Regions from separate parts of the Homo sapiens genome. Here region 1 is linked to region 2. Evidence: promoter capture Hi-C in human tissues and cell types (Jung and others, 2019). All regions are on one chromosome and are shown on one strand. Each heading gives the region's core, a stretch centred on a gene start or on the middle of the fragment in contact. The rest is flanking DNA. Distances are from core to core; before and after follow the strand shown.

What was found. The method cuts DNA at HindIII sites, captures the fragments that hold promoters and counts their contacts. A contact is called where the count stands out against the background at its distance.
Region 1: a contact is called between a fragment that was not itself captured here and the fragment with the promoter of VGLL2 in region 2, in 1 of the 25 tissues and cell types used here (ovary).

The regions. Positions count from the first base shown.
Region 1 is chr6:117,313,687-117,317,318 of GRCh38, reverse strand. ROS1 (ROS proto-oncogene 1, receptor tyrosine kinase) reads left to right here. Exons shown (of 44, transcript NM_001378902.1): 39 at 47-176. Among named protein-coding and RNA genes, the nearest start is that of VGLL2, 50 kb to the right of the region's middle. The HindIII fragment of the contact is 4,879 bases long and covers 1-3,632 here.
Region 2 is chr6:117,263,538-117,266,880 of GRCh38, reverse strand. VGLL2 (vestigial like family member 2) reads right to left here and starts at 1,323. Exons shown (of 4, transcript NM_182645.3): 1 at 1,037-1,323. The coding sequence starts at 1,117. It overlaps LOC105377964 (a long non-coding RNA gene), which reads left to right and starts at 1,807. Exons shown (of 2, transcript XR_942911.3): 1 at 1,807-2,306. The HindIII fragment of the contact is 18,110 bases long and covers 1-3,343 here.

The sequences.
Region 1 (3,632 bases), core at 872-3,371, 50 kb before region 2:
TCCTGCTTCTGTCATATCATCCAGCCTGTGTCTTTCCACCTTTCAGCAAATTTAATCATCCCAACATTCTGAAGCAGCTTGGAGTTTGTCTGCTGAATGAACCCCAATACATTATCCTGGAACTGATGGAGGGAGGAGACCTTCTTACTTATTTGCGTAAAGCCCGGATGGCAACGGTAGGCAGTTGGGATCCATAATATTGGTTTCATAATGCAAATGCCCTATAATTCCCTATTAATTTTCTTTAAATTTAATAGGCTGCAGTGGTAAAACCTTAGAAGACTTACATGGAAAGAATTATTCTGTTTCCTTCACATTAGCTTTTGACAATCAGAACCCTGGGCTAACATTCTGGCACTTTCTGGTCATGTGAGCCCGAGCCTGTTTTTAGTATTTAATGGGAGAACATGACCCTCATTGCCAGAATCATGTTTTTCTGGAGCACAGGGATAGCGTGGAGTTGGAAAGGCATATCTCTGTACTTAATCTATATGCCTGTCTGTCCCAAATTATATTTCCAGTCTTGATGTCTTTACTGAGTACCAGACTTGTATGTCCCTCTCTAGTTGACATATCTTTTTGGATTTTAGTAGGTATCTCAAACATATTTTGCCCCAAACGGAGCTCTTGATTTCGTACGTCCTCTCCTACTCCACCCATCTACTTCCTTGCTTTCTCTTTCCCTACATCCATGCTAACAAACTCTGCCTGCAAAACGCAGCCGCAGTCCTTCTTCTCTTGTATCCCCAGTGCCTGGAGCAGTGCACAGCACATTATGAACCCTGGAAATACTGTGGAATGGCGGACAGGACTGGGGGTGACTACCTGTAGGAATCTACCTTATACCTTAGATGAGAACACGTAAGATAAGACAAGTCAGCAAAGTTTAAATCTGGTGGATTAAAAAAATTTTTATATCAAAATAAACATCATATGGCTAAAAAATTAAAATGTGTGACAAAGCATATAGTGAAAAACAGGAGCCCTGTGCACTGCCTCATTCCTACCTCTCAGGCCCCGCATGTATCTTGTGGTATTTACCGCCAAGTTCCTAAATAGTCTGCTCATACTGACACATGTTGATTTTTCAATTTGGGGTAAATTGATTGCCCAGTATGGAAGATGAGGATTTAACTCTCTTAGACTTCCTCATAATATACCTGTCCATCCCTCACCACGCTACACACAGGAAAACTTTGCTTGCCTCATCCTCTGACAATTATCACAATTTTGCAGATAAACCATCCTTCCAGGTTTGCATTATTAGAACTATTTAGTTATTATTATTATTTTTAGAGCTGAATTATCCAAATGTTATTAATGTAAGTTTTTTTCTCAGGCTAGTTTAATAAATATCTCTTGTTTTCATTTTAGTTTTTATATACGTAAACTCCCCAACTGAATTGTAACACTTTTCTCAATATGGCTAACAGTATCAGACAATCTAGTACTTAATTTTTTCTTGGACACTTCCTTCCTGGAAGCAGTGTGGATGCTTGTGCTCTAGGCTAGCTACACAGCTGCTGTTCTAGGGTTTCCTTCACATTCAACCTGGGAATCTTCCTCAATTCTTGTCCATGTGGGACTTTTTCCATGTATCTCATGACTTTTTGTTTGTTTTAGAAGAGAAAGTATGCATGTGCAGCAAAAATCTGCTTTTTTTTAATTTTTGAGAAAACGTCCTTTATTCTTCCCTCACACTTGGTTGATAATTTGGTTGGACTTTTAGGTTGAAAACTCTTTATCTAACAGATAAAGCCACTACATCTTTCTTTCCTCGCTTCTACAATTGCCAATAAGAATTCTTATGCCACTCTGATTCCTGAGCTTATTATCAGTGGTCTGTTTTTTGCCTCCTCCCCTTCAAAAATTTGAGGAAAATTTTATCTGTGGTACTCTTTACTCATAGTAAAGTAACAGTTGCTTTGCTAATCATTCCCTTCAGTTCCAGGATTTTTTTTCATTGTCTCTTTGATAATGAATAGAATTCCTTATTCCCTCTATTTCTTTGTTCTAGAAATCCTGTTATAACGGACTGCTTTGTTTCATCTTCTCATTCTATTAGCTGCTCTCTCCTATTTTCTAGCTTTTGTCATTTTGCCTTCTATTGTGATAGACTTCCTCAACTTTGTCCCCAATCTTTTTGTAGAATTAAAAATTTTTGTTAACATATTTTAATTTTTCACAGTCTTGTTCTTGTATTTTGACTGCTTTTTAAAATAATATTCTGGTTTTGTTCATAGATGCAAAATTTTACTCATCTTCTTTTAGGGTATTAATTATGCTTTTCAAAGAGTGTTAATTTGCTTCCTGCATTGTCTTGGCTTCCTTGTTCCTCTTTGTTTTGGAATCTGATTCAATGTGAGAATCTTTCTCAAATGTTTAGTATTCTTGGCTGGTTTCATATTTAATCGTGAGGCCTAACAAAATGATGGGAACCTATGTGTCCAAGGAAGCTTCCTTTTGGTGTTAGGTGGGACCCTGCTCTTCCACTGGGGGTCCTCCAATGTCAGTAACTGAATCTTTTCCCTGACATATGCCAGTTTAACCAGGGAGGAAATTGCTCGTTTCTCCTCTGGACAGTAAATGCCTGATGCATCAACTCAGAGCGTTTAGAGGGGGCTGGAGGTCTCAAGGCTCAGTATGTGGACTCTCATTTAATTTTAATTCTCTGCATTTCAGTACAGTGCCTCAGTGTGACTGGTAGTATCTCTGAACTTGGAGTTGTTCTGGTTCAGGTTTCTGTTGTTTTTATTTGTTTGTTTTCTATAGACAAAAGCCTTCATCTGTGGTAGAAGAATCTATGATTTAGTTAGGCCTTAAATAACCTAAACGTTCTTTTTGCTTTCAGTCCTTCTTCTTGTCCCTGTATTCAGGGATACCTGCTGCCTCCCATTCTGGAGACTATGAGCTTCCATAGTGAAAAACAGCTCAATTCTTGCCTTTTCTTTCTGTAGGCAGTCAGCTTTCATCTCTCTTGGCTCTGCTAAATTACCACTCCTCCATCTGCTTTCCCTCTTCCAGAATGCTTTGTCTGCCATGTCAGTTCTCATGACAGTTGATTTGCCCTTGTGAAATTATGAAAATTTTCACTATACTGCCATGTTAGTAAGGTTTGGGGAGAGAGTGGAACTAAAAATGCGCACATTCAATCCCTCATCTTAAACAATAAATTTTATTTGTAGATTTGTCTTGTTTTGTGGTGGGGCTGGGGGTATGAAAAGTGAAGAGAGGATGAAAAAGGATGGACTGAAAAAAAAAGTGGATCTACTTTTTCCAGATCGTTTTGAGTCACCCAGGATCCTAATGCTTATAAAGATTGGTTCTCACATGCACTTCAGCTGTTCCGCAGCCTTTCCTGGTGGTTGCCAAAAACAGCTTCCAGGGCTTCGTCTCCTTCGCTGCAACCATAGAGACATCGTTAGGTGCTGAAGGCAGAATGAAGGCCTGAGGCCTATGGGAGCCATCACAAATGCTACTCTCCCTCCTGCTGACTTCTTTTGAGGCCAGCCTCTCCCCACATGGAGTGCTCAGAGGCACTATCTCAGAAGAACCAGCAGAGGCCTTTTTCTCTTTCTCCCTGCATTCAAGGACTATTTTATTGGGTTGAATGCCTAAGAATTGACTGCAGC
Region 2 (3,343 bases), core at 74-2,573:
CGGTCCATCATTAATTTATCGGGAAATTTTCGAATAGACATTTTAAATTTGCAGGCAAAATTAGCAAAAGCATCCACTGGGGCATTGGGGTGTATTTCAATTTCCCCAAAGCAGGTGACCAAGCTCTCACTTTCCAACCTGGAGGGGACCCCTACAGCCTCCCAGGTGTATGATTTCATTCTTTTCCTGCACTACTGTCCTCAGTTTCTGCTACCTCAGCTGAGGAAATGGAAGGAAAATGGTTCAAACAGACGCAGCCTGAAGACAAGAGAAACTGGCAGAATTAAATGGAACTTGAAGAGTTTGCAGAACCCGGGTTGAGTGGTCTTCTTAAAGTGTTTGTTGGAAGCAGGGCTTCCCCATTCACCTACTCAGGCTGGAGAAAGGCAAAGTATTGTCTATCAGGCTCGCCTCTGCCGGGTCATTCGCACTCCGGATAATGCTCCCAGAACTTCGCAAAGGAAAAAATTATAAAACTGCGCGGTGCTCTTTGAAATGAATTCTCTGGATCTGGAATTAATTGCCCTGGTCGCCAGAGAATTGAAACGGAAGAAATTATTCCTGAGATAAACTTGCAGGGATGAGAACACCGGCCCTTGCATCTCAGAAAGAGGCTGGCTGGCCTTCGCTTTTGGTTTTGTTGTTACTCTCACCATTGGGACCAAAGTTTGGTTTTTCCTGCGTCAGCTTTGCCTGCATTTCCTGGTACCTGCACCTGGCTTGGAAGAATCTGGAGTCCGACAGACCCTAAGAAGAAAATCCAGCCCGTGCCATCTTCCTCTGATTATTCCAGGGAAGACCTAGGCTCACATTAGCAGGGCTTAGCTGCTTCCCGAGAGCAAACAGGCGAGCTAAAGGGGTTAGCTAATTGCACTACCAACTGGGGGCGGCTCCGGCAATCCCCGCATCCCGGCTGCGCCGGTCGTGGTCGGACGCCCGAGACGCGCGGAGGCACAGCAGACCTTGGCGTACAGGCCATGCCGCCGCAAACGGGGGGCGCGCACTCCTTCCCAAAGTCCCCAGAGGAGACACGTACCTGGTGGTAGGGGGTGTAGGCGGCTGCGAAGTAGGGCTGCGGAGGACCATAGACTTGGTACATAACATCCAGACAGCTCATGACTCTCCGCAGCGGAGACGGTTAAGTGTTTTTTCATTAACTCTCCTTCCCCGGAGCTCAGGGGTGCTGCATGGGCGGCGCTTGGACCCGCGCTCTGGAGTCATCAGGCGGAGCAAAGCCAGCGCGCTCCGCGGCTCGGAATCCAGCTGGCTCGCTACCCTCCCACTCCTGCGATTTTACTCCCGACCGCGCTCCAGGGCAGAAGCGCCTGAGCTCCCGCTAGTGGGCATTTAAAGCCCATGCCCGGCGGGCGTGCTGACGCCACTCGGGGGCTGCGGAGCGGGAGGGGGCGGTGGGGGGCGGGGACCGGGGGGCCAATGGGGAGCGAGGGACGCTTGTTGGAGGGGCAGCGAGTGTGTTTCCCGGGGCCCACCTCTGACAAGCATGCGGCCAAGGGTGCCGGAGACTATGCGGTTCCCAGCGGATCCGAGGCTTCGCACCGCGAGTAGGAATCTCCCAGGACAAAATAGGAGAGAGAGAGAAAGAGAGAGAGAGAAGGAGGCGGGGACGAAGGGATCCGGGCTCATACACGCAGAGAAAGAAAGTTGGAGAAAGGTCTCTTAGGAAAGCCCTTGTCTCATACTGTAGTTGAGTGGGTGCTTCCAGAAGTGCCGAGGTGGGGCAAATTCTCTGCTTTCGGTTCCTGATGATGTATGGGGAGGACGGTGCTGTCCCTTGGAATCCCCTAGGGAGTCCGGGTCGTGGCAGACAGGATGTGGGAGTCCGGGTACCCCTCCAGGGCGCAGAAGAGCTACCTCTGCGGGGAAATGGCAGTGGCTGAAACCTGTAACCGCTGTCCTCTAATCCACTTCCTTTCGCTCCCTCTAACCTGGTCCTCCCGCCGCCTGTCCCACACCCCAATTCTGCTCTCTTGGGCCGTGCCCTTCTGCCCCTCTAAAGTTCGATCCTGCTCCTTTCTCTTTGATGTTCTCCACCGGAACCCGTTAGCTTCGCATAGATCGCGCCCGCTTCCGGCTGCTCCCGGTGTGAGCTGCTTTCGAGGAGTCCAGGAGGCTTTACCCGGCCTCGGATGTCTGGCTTTTCATGCTGGGGTCTCCTTGGCCGGGGTCCTTTAAAGTTTTGGCAACTTTGGGGACAAGGACTCGTTGGCGCTAAGAAGAAGCATACTAGGACCCGTACACAGAGAGGTCTTTTGCTGCCTATTCAGCCGGTAATACCAGCTGCGATGGTATGTTTCATTTTGGAGAGCTGGAAGTATATGCACTCCAACTATAAAACCTTCACCCCTTTCTCTCTCCGGCCCTCCCTGAGAGGTCTGCTGGCTTCGCCCTCCTTCCTGCGACCCTACCCATCCTTCTCAAGCCTACCCCCCACCAAGCCCTCTGGAAAGGGGGTGTAACAGTGGAGTCTTCAGTTCTATAAGTTTAGGAATGCATTGAGACAAGGCTATCTCCATGGCTGGGTCAGGTGGCGGAAGGGGCATTACGGGAATAGAGGCGGGCCAGACTTGGGGGGACCAAGGGAACAGGTTGGGAGCATTAAGAGTCTAGACTCAAGAAAGAGGCAGCATGGATTTCAAACCCTAGTTATTCCCCAGCTTAAATACAACAGAAAGTCTTTATAGAGTCTCAGGCTATAAGACTGTGAATAAATGAACCCTTGAAGATCTATTTGTGTTTTAAAAGTGAGTATTTTAAGCCAAATTGTTTTAGGGTTGCAGTTTTGGTGTTGCCCAATTTATAGATGGGAAATGGCTCCGTGTCTCCAAATGCTTGTAACTGGTGAGCCATCTTGAGCGATTCGACAATTTCCTTAATTAACAACAATGTAATCTATGTAAAGTTTTCTAATCAATGAAAAGTTAAAATAAAGACACTCTTCTAGTACATTTCCATGCAAGCCTCTTTTTAGGGGCCAAGCTGCCTGTTGGATGAAATCTGCCAGCTTCTGGAGCTTCTGATTATCCAGGCGCAAGGGTGAAGCAGAACATCCATCCCACCTCCACCCCAATGTGCCCTCCCTAGGCGTTTCTGAAGATAGGTACAACCACCTATCATCATTTTCTTTGGGGCAAGAGAGGAAACCCTCATCCAAAGAGCCACAGTACGCTCTTCTGTGTGCGGGAGATGGGGAGTTCAGGTCCCAGTCTCGCTGGCCGCTGCTGCGCACCCTTTCTGCTGGGTCGGCTTCACCCAGGCCCGCAGGAGTACAGGTGTCAACGCAACCATCGCACCAGGGACTCCACGGGGCGGGCGGGTGTGGCCC